3 separate regions of the Homo sapiens genome follow, and all the other regions are linked to region 2. The links are contacts of gene promoters, found by promoter capture Hi-C in human tissues and cell types (Jung and others, 2019). All regions are on one chromosome and are shown on one strand. The core of a region is centred on a gene start or on the middle of the fragment in contact, and the rest is flanking DNA. Distances in the headings are between cores, read along the strand shown.

Region 1 (3,831 bases), core at 1-2,500, 79 kb after region 2:
CGGGGTCCAGGAACCCTCAGAAACAGCAGCCCCCAGTCCTGGCAGTGTGTGCGCGTGTGTGCATGTGTGTGCATGCATGTGTGCATCTGTACATGTGTGCGTGTGCATGAGAGCATGTGTGTGCGTGTGTGCACTCACATGTGTACGTGACAGCATGCGTGTGTGCGTGCGTGTGTACATGTGTGTGCATGTGCATGAGTATTGTGTGCATGTGTGCATGTATGTGTACATGTGTGCGTGTGTGCATGAGAGCATGTGTGCGTGTGTGCGCATGTGTGACAGCATGCATGTGTGCGTGTGTACGTGTGTGCATGTGCATGAGAGTATTGTGTGCATGTGTGCATGCATGTGTGTGTACATGTGTGCGTGTGTGCATGAGAGTGTGTGTGCATGTGTGTGCATGTGTGCATGTGCTTGAGAGCGTGTGTGCGTGCATGTGCGTGAGCATGTGTGCGTGTGTGTGTGTTGTGTGCACACGTGTGACCTGGCTCTGGCCCCACCTCCCTGACAGGCTGTGTGACCTGGAGAGATTCAGTGCCCTCTCTGGGCCTTGGCTCCACCCTGTGAAAGTCCTGGCCAAGGGCAGCTGTGGGGAGTGAGGAACAAAGGGCGGGCACAAGCTTGAAAATGGGCACATGGAGACCCCAGCATGAGTGAGGGCAGAGGATGGTGATGTCATGGGCATCATCACGGGGGCCAATTTCCTCACTGCAGTTGGGGAAACTGAGACCCAGAGAGGGGTCAGAGCTGTGGTTCCCCCCTGTGTCAGCATCCAATTAGATCATGCCTCCCAGCATCACCTCATTGCAAGATGCAATCAGATCACGCCTCATTACCCTATGCTTATAAAACCTGCCCCAGCCCTCAGCTCGGGGAGACACTGCTTTGGGAGCTGTCTAGGTGTTCTCCTTACTTGTTGCAAGAAATAAAATCCCCTATTAAATCCTCTTTAGTTAACACCCGCCAAGCAACTGAGCCCACCCGTTGTGTGGGTAACAAAACTCTGGCGACCCAGATGGGGCCGACTGGGATTCTGATCCTAACTTCTTGAGGCTCACTAAGGTAAAGCAGTGGGCCGCGGCACCTTCCCCGGGCGAACTCACCCACGTGGCCCCAGAGGGTTGAGGGTGACTCCCGGGGATCTTCTGCTTGCTGCGTGGCCCGTGGGGCTGTCACTCCGCCCTACCCCCGAAACAGCGGAAGCAGCTGCCTGGAGCTTTTGTTCTGTGCTGCTCCTTCAGGGAAGAAAGTGGACTTTGCCCCGTGGGTTGACTGAAAGGGTAAATTCTTTGGACCTAGCAGTGGGATCTCTAGACTTCAGCGCAGGGCACCTCTGCTTTCGGTTTCTGTCTGGCTCTACGTGCCGTGGGGGATTGAGAGGCATCTCTGGCCAGGCCAAGGGCAACCCGGATCCCGGATCTGGGTAGACAACAGTGGGACTAGTTTTGGGAATTCGTTTTTTTTTTTTTGAGACAGAGTCTGGCTCTGTCACCCAAGCTGGGGTGCAGTGGCGCGATCTCGGCTCACTGCAAGCTCCACCTCCCGGGTTCACGCCATTCTCCTGCCTCAGCTTCCTGAGTAGCTGGGACCACAGGCGCCCGCCACCACGCCCGGCTAATTTTTTGCATTTTTAGTAGAGACGGGGTTTCACCGTGTTAGCCAGGATGGTCTCGATCTCTTGACCTCGTGATCCGCCCGCCTCGGCCTCCCAAAGTGCTGAGATTACAGGCGTGAGCCACCGCGCCCAGCATGAGAATTTGTTCTTTTTTAGAGAAACAGAATTTTTCACAGGAGGCTGAGCTGCTCCATCTCCCAGAGCCCCTACTTGCCATACCCCGGGTTACCAGAAACAGGAGCTCTGCCATTTGATGAAAAAAATACTTTTTTCAGATAAATGTTTTTGTCATATCATCACACAAAGCGGGTAAAGTTGTATATATATACATACAACTTTTTACAAATATGTGATCATATGTACAAAGGCTAGAAGGAAATATACAGAAAAATATGTATTAAAATACTGGTTTTTTTTCATTGTTTTATAAGATACTCTACAAAACATTACAATGAGGTAGGACTATTTTAGTGCTAGAGAATCTCATTAAATGAATTTGTTCAAGAGCTTCTTTGTCAGCTGGGTGCAGTGGCTCACACCTGTAACCCCAACACTTTGGGAGGCCAAGGGGGGCAGATTGCTTGAGCCTAGGTGTTCAAGACCAGCCTGGGCAACATAGGGAGACCCTGTCTCTACCAAAAAAAAAAAAAAAATTAGGGTGGGCGCGGTGGCTCACACCTATAATCCCAGCACTTTGGGAGGCTGAGGCGAGTGGATCACCTGATGTCAGGAGTGTAAGACCAGCCTGGGCAACATGGCAAAACCCCGTCTGTACTAAAAATACAAAATTTATCCAGGCATGGTGGTGGGTGCCTGTAATCCCAGCTACTTGGGAGGCTGAGGCATGAGGCAGAGGTTGCAGTGAGCCGAGATCATGCCATTGCACTACAGCCTGGGCGACAAGAGCGAAACTCTGTCTCAAAAAAAAAAAAAAAAAAAAATTAGCCAGGTGGTGGCACACACAGCTGTGGCCCCAGCTACTCAGGAGGCTGAGGCGGGAGAATCACTTGAGCACGGGGAGTTGGAGGTAATCGTACCGTGAGTACAGTGAGCCGTTATCGTATGGCTGCATTCCAGGCTAGACAACACAGTGAGACCTTGTCTCAAAAGAAAATAAATAAATAAATAAATAAATAAATAAATAAATAAATAAATAAAGAGCTTCTTTGTCAATATCCTTTTGTGGGTATACATCATAGTCCCACAGTACTTCTTCAACCCAGGGAGATAAATGTGTATTAGTCTGAAGACCCAGGAGAGAATCTTCAAGACTTGGCACTGTCACTGATGATGATCTGCTTCCTTACATTATGACAAATGTATTCCCAGCTCCGGCTTGTTCTGCCTCATTAAGAGAATATTTGAAGACATTATTCATGATAGCAGCATCAGCATTTTGCAGAAGAAACCCTGGGGACAGATGTCTGCATGAAGCACCTTTATTCTGTGAATAAACTGGTATTTTTTAATGACCATTTCCTGCAACTGGCAAAAGTCTCCGTTCAGTTCTACTCCACAGGGTTGCACTGCTAAGCTATAAGATCACCCCATAAAGACTGTGCTGAGCCTGGAGCTGACGTCAGCCACAGCCTTTCCTGATTGATCAGGGAGTGCATGAAGATAAATGAACTTCAATTCCATGAGGGAGAAGGAACGAGCAATCGGTCTAAAGGTTCTGTTTGGTGTGAACCACCCAGTAGTTTCTGCTCATTTTCCCTTTGTCACATAATGAATCAATGAAGTCTTTATCACAAAGGAATGCGTCAGCGTGAATGGTGGGTTCTGGCTGCTGCTGTAGTTTTTGAAGGGTTAGATGTTCTGAGGAAAGCATGGTTTCTAGAGGCAAGCAATTCTGAAGGTCTTCTGCAGTGGGTTTTTTTTTTTTTTAATTTTGAGACAAGGTCCGGCTCTGTCACCCAGGCTGGAGTGCAGTGGCTCGACTGTGGCTCACTGCAACCTCCAACTTCCAGGTTCAAGCAGTCCTCCCATCTCAGCCTCCCAAGTAGCTGAAACTACAGGCACGCACCCAGCTAATTTTTTTTTTGAGATGGGGTCTTGCTATGTTGTCCAGTCTGGTCTCAAACTCCTGAGCTCAAGTGATCCACCCCCTTCAGCCTCCTAAAGTGCTGAGATTACAGGCATAAGCCACCACACCCAACCTTTCTGCTGTGTTTTTAAACACAATGTCTTTATTTCCTTCAGTGAATTCATCAAAA
Region 2 (3,898 bases), core at 1,296-3,795:
TTTGATTATGTGTTTTAAACCTTACTTATTTTATTTATTTATTTAATTTTTTTTTGAGATGGAGTCTTGCTCTTGTTGCCCAGGCTGGAGTGCAGTGGCGCGATCTCGGCTCACCACAAGCTCCACCTCCCAGATTCACGCCATTCTCCTGCCTCAGCCTCCTGAGTAGCTGGGACTACAGGCGCCCGCCACCACGCCCGGCTAATTTTTTTGTATTTTTAGTAGAGATGGGGTTTCACCGTGTTAGCCAGGATGGTCTCGATCTCCAGACGTCGTGATCCGCCCGCCTCGGCCTCCCAAAATGCTGGGATTACAGGCGTGAGCCACTGTGCCCGGCCAAACCTTACTTATTTTAATATCAAGTGTTTTGAACCTTTAATATTTGACATACTTCCAAAAATTAAATTTCAAAATTTTTGTTTTTTTTGAGACAGTTGTTTCACTCTGTTGCCCAGGCTGGAGTGCAGTGGCGTGATCTCAGCTCACTGCTACTTCTGCCTCCTGGGTTCAAATGATTCTCCTGTTTCAGCCTCTTGGTAGCTGGGACTACAGGTGCACACCAACATGGCTGGCTAATTTTTGTATTTTTGGTAGAGGCGGGGTTTCACCATGTTGGCCAGGCTGGTTTTGAACTCCTGACCTCAAGTGATCCACCCGCCTCAGCCTCCCAAGGTGCAGGGATTACAGGGGTGAGCCACCACACCTGGGCACCTAATTTAAATTTCAAATTTAGAAAAATTTTTGACATATTTCCCAAAGTTAATTAAGTCTTTTTTTATCTGAACTATCTTGGACACAAGAAATAGGAGCCCTTGGAAGTCCAAGAGAGAAATACTGGGCTTATTTGGTATGTTAAAATCATATACGGAGCATTGTCAAATAAGAAATGGTGTTTAACTTTCTTTTTTTTGAGATGGAGTCTCGTTCTGTCGCCCAGACTGGAGTGCAGTGGCACAATCTCGGCTCACTGCAACCTCCACCTCCCAGGTTCAAGCAATTCTCCTGCCTCAGCCTTCTGAGTAGCTGGATTACAGGCGCACCCCATCACACCCAGCTAATTTTTGTATTTTTAGTAGAGATGGGGTTTTGCCATGTTAATCAGGCTGGTCTCGAACACCAGACCTCGTGATCCACTCGCCTTGGCCTCCCAAAGTGCTGGGATTACAGGCATAAGCCACCACGCCCAGCTGGTGTTTAACTTTCTTTGAGTTATATTTCTATAAATGTGTTATTAATATGTGTTCCAAAATTGTATGAGATTCTTAAAATGACATGTCTCGGTATATGTTTTCAGTGATAATGTTGTTAAATTTTTGTATGTCACAGAAATAACCAAGTTTCCTTGTCAGTTGCATCTTTAACCATGGCTAGTCTAAGTTTTTTGTCATCCACAGACAATTATTGTTTTACTTTGATTCTCAAAAATTAGTTTATAATCAGCTACAGTCCAAAATTTGCTTCTTAAGGAAATTCACAGAAAACGATGCTGAAAAGTACTCTTGAGTATAGGTTTCCAGTAAATTTATTTATTAATTAAATATTTGTTTGCTTGTGTATGTTTTTTGAGACAGGGTCTCACTCTGTCACCCAGGCTGGACTGCAGTGGTGTGAACATGTCTCACTGCAGCCTCAACCTCCTGGGCTCCAGCAATCCTCCTACCCTAGCCTCCCGAGTAGCTGGGACTACAGGCATGCACCATCACGCTTGGCTAATTTTTAAATTTTTTGTACAGTCTTTCTGTGTCACTCAGGCTGGTCTCAAACTCCTGACCTCAGGTGATCCTTTTGCCTTGTCCTTCCAAAGTGCTGGTAAGATAGGAGAACAGGGAATTAGGGTAACAAAGGGTTAAGGCATAAGCAAAAAACAGCAGGGGCAGCCAGTTCTAGGCAAGATTAGGCAGCACGCAGGCCACGTCCTCACTCCTGTGATAACAAGACAGGAGTCTCCACTTCTGCCTCCGATTGACCACAGGCAGGGTCTGCACTTCAGCCTCTGATTGGTCACGGGCCAATCGCTTACAGGGTGTAACCAATTGGAAGCCTCTGCAGGGCACCTATGGTGTTACCAAATTCTTTTGGCTTAATAAAAACCCTGAAGCATATTGTAATTGGGGCTGCTTGAGCCTGCTCCCACTCTGTGGAGCGTACTTTTGCTTTAATACATCTATGCTTTCATCTTCTGTTGCTTTGTGCATTTTGTTCAGTTCTTTGTTCAACACGCCAAGAACCTGGACAACTCACAGTCAAGACTTTCCATCTGGTAACACTGGGACCACAGTCACGAGCTACCGCACCCTGCTCTGGTAACTTTAGAGATCATACCACTGAACTAAGTAAAAACTTCCAGAACCCTAATAAAGAACTGATGCATTCATGAAGATTGTGAACACAACATCAAGCAGAACGAGAATTAATTACGTAGGACAGAACCGATAGGGGACTAAAATGATTTTTATGACTTTTGTTTGTTTGAAACGTTGCTGATTCTTTTTATATTTTGTTTTCTAGAAACAAGAAAACTTTTTCTTTTGAGCTATTTATAACTCACAGCCATTGGGCAAAGTATACTTTTGTGAGCAAAATTGAAATATTTACCTTTCTCTCTACCTGATTTCTCCAAAATTTGGACACTATTTGTGACGATTCTTATTTTATTGCAATACAGTTATTTGCATAAGTTCAGTAAGACTATGTTTTCTTTTGTAACTGGGCACACTGAAGACACTCGTAATTTTACCAAGGCTTTGACTGTACTGGCATATTTTCAGATACAGCCAGACTGTTTTGAGGAGTTGAGGCTGATTTTATAGAGCCAGTAAAAAGTCCCTTGGAGAGATTGGTCTGGTACCTGGTTTTTATGGTTCCCTTACAAGCTTCCTGACCTTGTGGTGTGGGCGGCAAGCCACCCACGTGCCGAGGCAAGAGACGGAAGGCATGAGCTCTTCCAGCATAATAAAGAAAATAATTAGAATAAGAATAGTTATACTAGAAATAGAATATAGACATGATTATATATGAATATTATCAATCATTAGTTTGTAGCATTACTCTTTATTATATTAATCTCTGTTCTATAATTATTACCTGTTCTATACTTATTACCTAAGGAAAACCAGGCCATACAGAATTAGGAGCTGAAGGGACACGGTGAGAAGTGACCAGAAGGCAAGAATGTGAGCCCTCTGTCAAGCCCGCACAAGGGCCACTAGAGGGCTCCTTGGTCTAGCAGTAACGCCAGTGCCTGGGAAGGCACCTGTTACTTAGCAGACTGGGAAAGGGAGTCTCCCTTTCCCCCAGGGAGTTAGAGAACACTCTGCTTCACCACCTCCTGTGGAAGGCCTGCCATCAGCCAGGCCTGCCCGCAGCCATCCGGAGGCCTAAATGTCTCCCTGTGATGCTGTGCTTCAGTGGTCACGATCCTGGTCCACTTTCATGTTCCGCTCTGTGCACCTGGCCCCGCCTTCTAGATAGCAGTAGCAGAATTAGTGAAAGTATTAAAGTCTTTGATCTTTCCGAGAAATGCATAGAAGAAATAATGACGTAAGCTGTCCCCTCTCTCTCTCCGCCTCGGCTACCAAACAGGGAATGGCCCCGTTCGGTGGACACATGACTCGCGTGACCTTACCCTTACATTGGACTTTACATTGGAGATGACTCACGCTCCTTACCCTGCCCTCTTGCCTTGTATACAATAATTATCAGCGCGGCCAGGCATTTGGGCCTTCGCGTCTTGGTGGTAGTGGTCCCCCAGGCCCAGCTGTCTTTTCTTCTATCTCCTTGTCTTGTGTCTTTATTTCTACAATCTCTCGTCTCCGCACACGAAGAGAAAAACCCATAGGCCCTGTAGGGCTGGACCCTACATTGTGGTAAGGAAAGAATGTCACTTTCTGACAAGCCC
Region 3 (3,667 bases), core at 910-3,409, 89 kb before region 2:
GGGGTTTCACCATGTTGACCAGGCTGGTCTTGAACTTCTGACCTGAGGTGATCCACCTGCCTCAGCCTCCCAAAGAGCCGGGATTACAGGCGTGAGCCACCACGCCCGGCAAAAAAATTATTCTTAATTGTGGTAAAATACACATAACATAACATAAAATTTACCATCTCAACCGTTTTGAAGTGTATACTCAGTGGCGTTAAGTATATGCACACTGTTATGCAACCAATTTCCAGAACAGTTTCGTCTTTCAAAACAGAAATTCTACACTCATCAAAGAACAAGTCTCCATTTCCCACCCCCCTGCCCCCAGCCCTTGGCAATCACCATTCTGCTGTCATTTTTTTTTTTTTTTGAGATGGAGTCTTGCTCTGTCGCCCAGGCTGGAGTGCAGTGGCGCGATCTTGGTTCAATGCAACTTCTGCCTCCTGGGTTCAAGCGATTCTCCTGCCTTAGCCTCCCGAGTAGCTGGGATTACAGGCACGTGCCACCATACCCAGCTAATTTTTGTATTTTTCGTAGAGATGGGGTTTCTCCATGTTGGCCAGGCTGGTCTCAAACTCCTGACCTCAGGTGATCTGCCTGCCTTGGCCTCCAAAAGTGCTGGGATTACAGGTGTGAGCCACCGCGCCCGGCCCTGCTTTCTGTCTTTGTGAATCTGACTACTCTAGGTACCTTACATAAGTAGAATAATACAGTATTTTCCTGTATGTGACTGGTACTGTTATTTCACTTAGCATATTGATGCTTTTTTTTTTTTTTTGAGATGGGGTCTCACTCTATCACCCAGGCTGGAGTGCAGTGGTGCGATCTTGGCTCACTACAACCTCCATCTCCTGGGCTCAAGCAATCCTCCAGCCTCAGCCTGCTGAGTAGCTGGGACCACAGGCGTGCACCACCACACCACCTAATTTTTTGTATTTTTGGTGAAGATGGTATTTTGCCATGTTGTCCAGGCTGGTCTTGAACTTGTGAGCTCAAGGAGATCCAGGAGATCCACTTGCCTTGGCCTCCCAAAGTGCTGGTATTAGAGGCATAAGCCACCACACCTGCCCCATACTGATGCATTTTTACATGACATTAGTGAATTCAATTAGCCTAGTATTTTATTTAGAATGTTTCATATCAGCTGGGCGCTGTGGCTCACGCCTGTAATCCCAGCACTTTGGGAGGCCGAGGTGGGCGGATCACGAGGTCCGGAGATTGAGACCATCCTGGCTAACACGGTGAAACCCTGTCTCTACTAAAAATACAAAAAATTAGCCGGGCATGGTGGCGGGCGCCTGTAGTCCCAGCTGCTCGGGAGGCTGAGGCAGGAGAATGGCGTGAACCCGGGAGGCAGAGCTTGCAGTGAGCTGAAATTGTGCCACTGCACTCCAGCGTGGGTGACAGAGCGAGACTCCGTCTCAAAAAAAGAAAAACAAAAGTTGTTTTAGCCCCAAAGTACCTCATTTCTCTTTTCTTTTAATTTAATTTTTTTTTTTTGTTTTGTTTTGAGACAGCATCTCGCTCTGTCGGCTAGCCTGGAGTGCAGTGGCACGAACACGGCCCACTGCAGCCTCGAACTCCTGGGCTCAAGCGATCCTCTCGCCTCGGCCTCCCAAAGTGGTGGGGTTACAGGGCCACCGCGCCCGGCGCTAAAGTACCTCATTTCTATCATTCATCGATTATTCCCTAATATTAATTGGGCACAACTATGACTCATTTCCGACCCCGCAATGGGCTCTCTTGGTCTCCTTCTCCACCTTTCTTTCCCTCTTCCTCTTTTTATTTTTTGAAAGAGGAAGATCCAGGATGCAAGAGTCCCGACAATCATACTAGATATGCGAAAGAGAAAAAGCCGGAAGAAAATACACAAAAATCATAACACTTTGAGGGTGTGGCTTACGGGTGTTTTTTTTTTTTTTCATTTTCCTAACTCTGCAGTGCTGTTATATTCCATCCACAACTTCAAACAAAGTGCCACACGGCCGCAGTCCCAATCAATTCAATGACAATTGTTAGGGACGTCCTCGTCCCGCCCGGCCCGCGGACCCCGGCCCTTCCTCCTTGACAGGCTGGGGTCCAGCCCCGAGACATTCCTAGGCTCCGCCCCCGAGCAGACGCGCGCGCTCAGCCCCAGCGCAGAGAACCAATCACCATCCGTTTCCACGCTCAGTCCCTTTTGGCTTCTGCCCTCAACCAAAATGGCGCTAGCTCGGAAGCTGCCGAGGTGCTAGGAGTTGCCGAAGCAAGTCCGGAAGCTACCGAGCGAGTCCGGAAGTTGCCGAAAGGGAGCAGCGGGGAAGGAGGATGGCGGATATCATCGCAAGACTCCGGGAGGACGGGATCCAAAAACGTGTGATACAGGAAGGCCGAGGAGAGCTCCCGGACTTTCAAGATGGGACCAAGGTTCGTGTCTACCCTACCCTTCTCCCCCTCTGCGGCGTGGTGCGCATGCGAGGCGGGAGGAGGCCTTAGGCGAGAGGTTGCGCATGCCCAGAGGGCAGCGTCCACTGCCCCTACCGCTCACATGCAGAACTCGACGCTGATTGGGCTGAATTTAAGTAGGGGGTGAATTCGGGCCTGTCTGCCCCGCCCCCTGGCTCGGCCTTGTAGCAGCATTGGTGGGGGAGGCCGTCAGTCATCACAAGCGGGTTGGGGTTGGGGGTTGATCTCAGTGCTTGGGCAGACCCCACGCTGGAGGAAACCCAGGGCCGGGAGTGGTCCTCGGGTATCTGGGTTTCAAGGCTCATGATCCTTTGTAGATGGAAGGGCCTTCTGAAAACACTTAGACCAACTGCCGCTGTTTAGAGTGGAAAACCAAGACCCTGGGACGTGCAAAGCCGGAGAACGGGCCCAGAGGTCAGGTCTCCCAGACAGGGACTCTTTAGCAGCCTTCCTGCTGCACTAGGGGCTTGTTGGGACAGATGAGGGTTGGGAAGTAAAGAACCTCCCACTTTTCTCCTTTTTGCCAGGCCCCCAGATCCAGCCCCTCTGCCCGCTTCTCCCCCAACCTACAACTCCAGGCTTCCCTGCTTCTCCTGTAGTTGCCTCCTCCCGGAGTGCTTTTCCCAGCTGCCACTTGTTTGCAGAGTAGGGAACCTCCCAGGGGCAGCCCCTGTGCCCAGCAGAGCAGTCAGGCAGGACATGCACATTGAGCAAATGAGCACATGCCCCCTGGCCAGCACCGTGCCGAATCGGGCAGCTAAGCATCCTAGCCCAGTGCAGTATAAGTGCCCTGAGAGCAGAGGGGAGCTGCATGGCTGGAGTGATCCGCTGTATGAAAAGATATCTTCTCTAAGAAGAGACAGGATGTGTGGTGTGGGTTCATGCCCCCATGTGCTGGGGGGTTGGTGGCGTTGGAAGAAGGGGCTGGCAAGGGGGATCCTGGATGGAACAGACATCAGAAGGAGAGATGTGAACAATGGCACCCCAAGATCAGAAACAGGTGGTGTTAAATAACCAATCGCCAGCACTGATTGAGTGCTCACTATTCGAACATTGTGCTACATGCTTCACACGTTTATTTCCTACAATGTGAGATAGGTACTGTTGTTGATTCCGTTTTACCGATGTGGAAACTGACTTCAGAGATGCAGCATGGTGCGGCAGTTAAGAGCGTGGGCTCCTCTAACCATATCCTGTCGAGAGTTCAATCTCCAAACCTCTTTTCTCTGCACCCACC

Evidence for each region. Contacts are between HindIII fragments. The study calls those that stand out against the background at their distance.
Region 1: the fragment with the promoter of ACY3 here is called in contact with a fragment that was not itself captured in region 2 in 2 of the 25 tissues and cell types used here (aorta and lymphoblastoid cells).
Region 3: the fragment with the promoter of AIP here is called in contact with a fragment that was not itself captured in region 2 in 4 of the 25 tissues and cell types used here (lymphoblastoid cells, mesendoderm cells, ovary and 1 more).

What each region holds. Positions count from the first base shown.
Region 1 is chr11:67,649,480-67,653,310 of GRCh38, forward strand. It overlaps ACY3 (aminoacylase 3), which reads right to left and starts at 1,251. Exons shown (of 8, transcript NM_080658.2): 1 at 1,104-1,251. RefSeq lists enhancers at 1,323-1,402, 1,473-1,532. The HindIII fragment of the contact is 14,698 bases long and covers 1-3,831 here.
Region 2 is chr11:67,569,646-67,573,543 of GRCh38, forward strand. No RefSeq gene overlaps it. Among named protein-coding and RNA genes, the nearest start is that of GSTP1, 12 kb to the right of the region's middle. The HindIII fragment of the contact is 7,251 bases long and covers 1-3,898 here.
Region 3 is chr11:67,480,867-67,484,533 of GRCh38, forward strand. It overlaps AIP (AHR interacting HSP90 co-chaperone), which reads left to right and starts at 2,160. Exons shown (of 6, transcript NM_003977.4): 1 at 2,160-2,391. The coding sequence starts at 2,293. RefSeq lists an enhancer at 2,002-2,061. The HindIII fragment of the contact is 17,225 bases long and covers 1,662-3,667 here.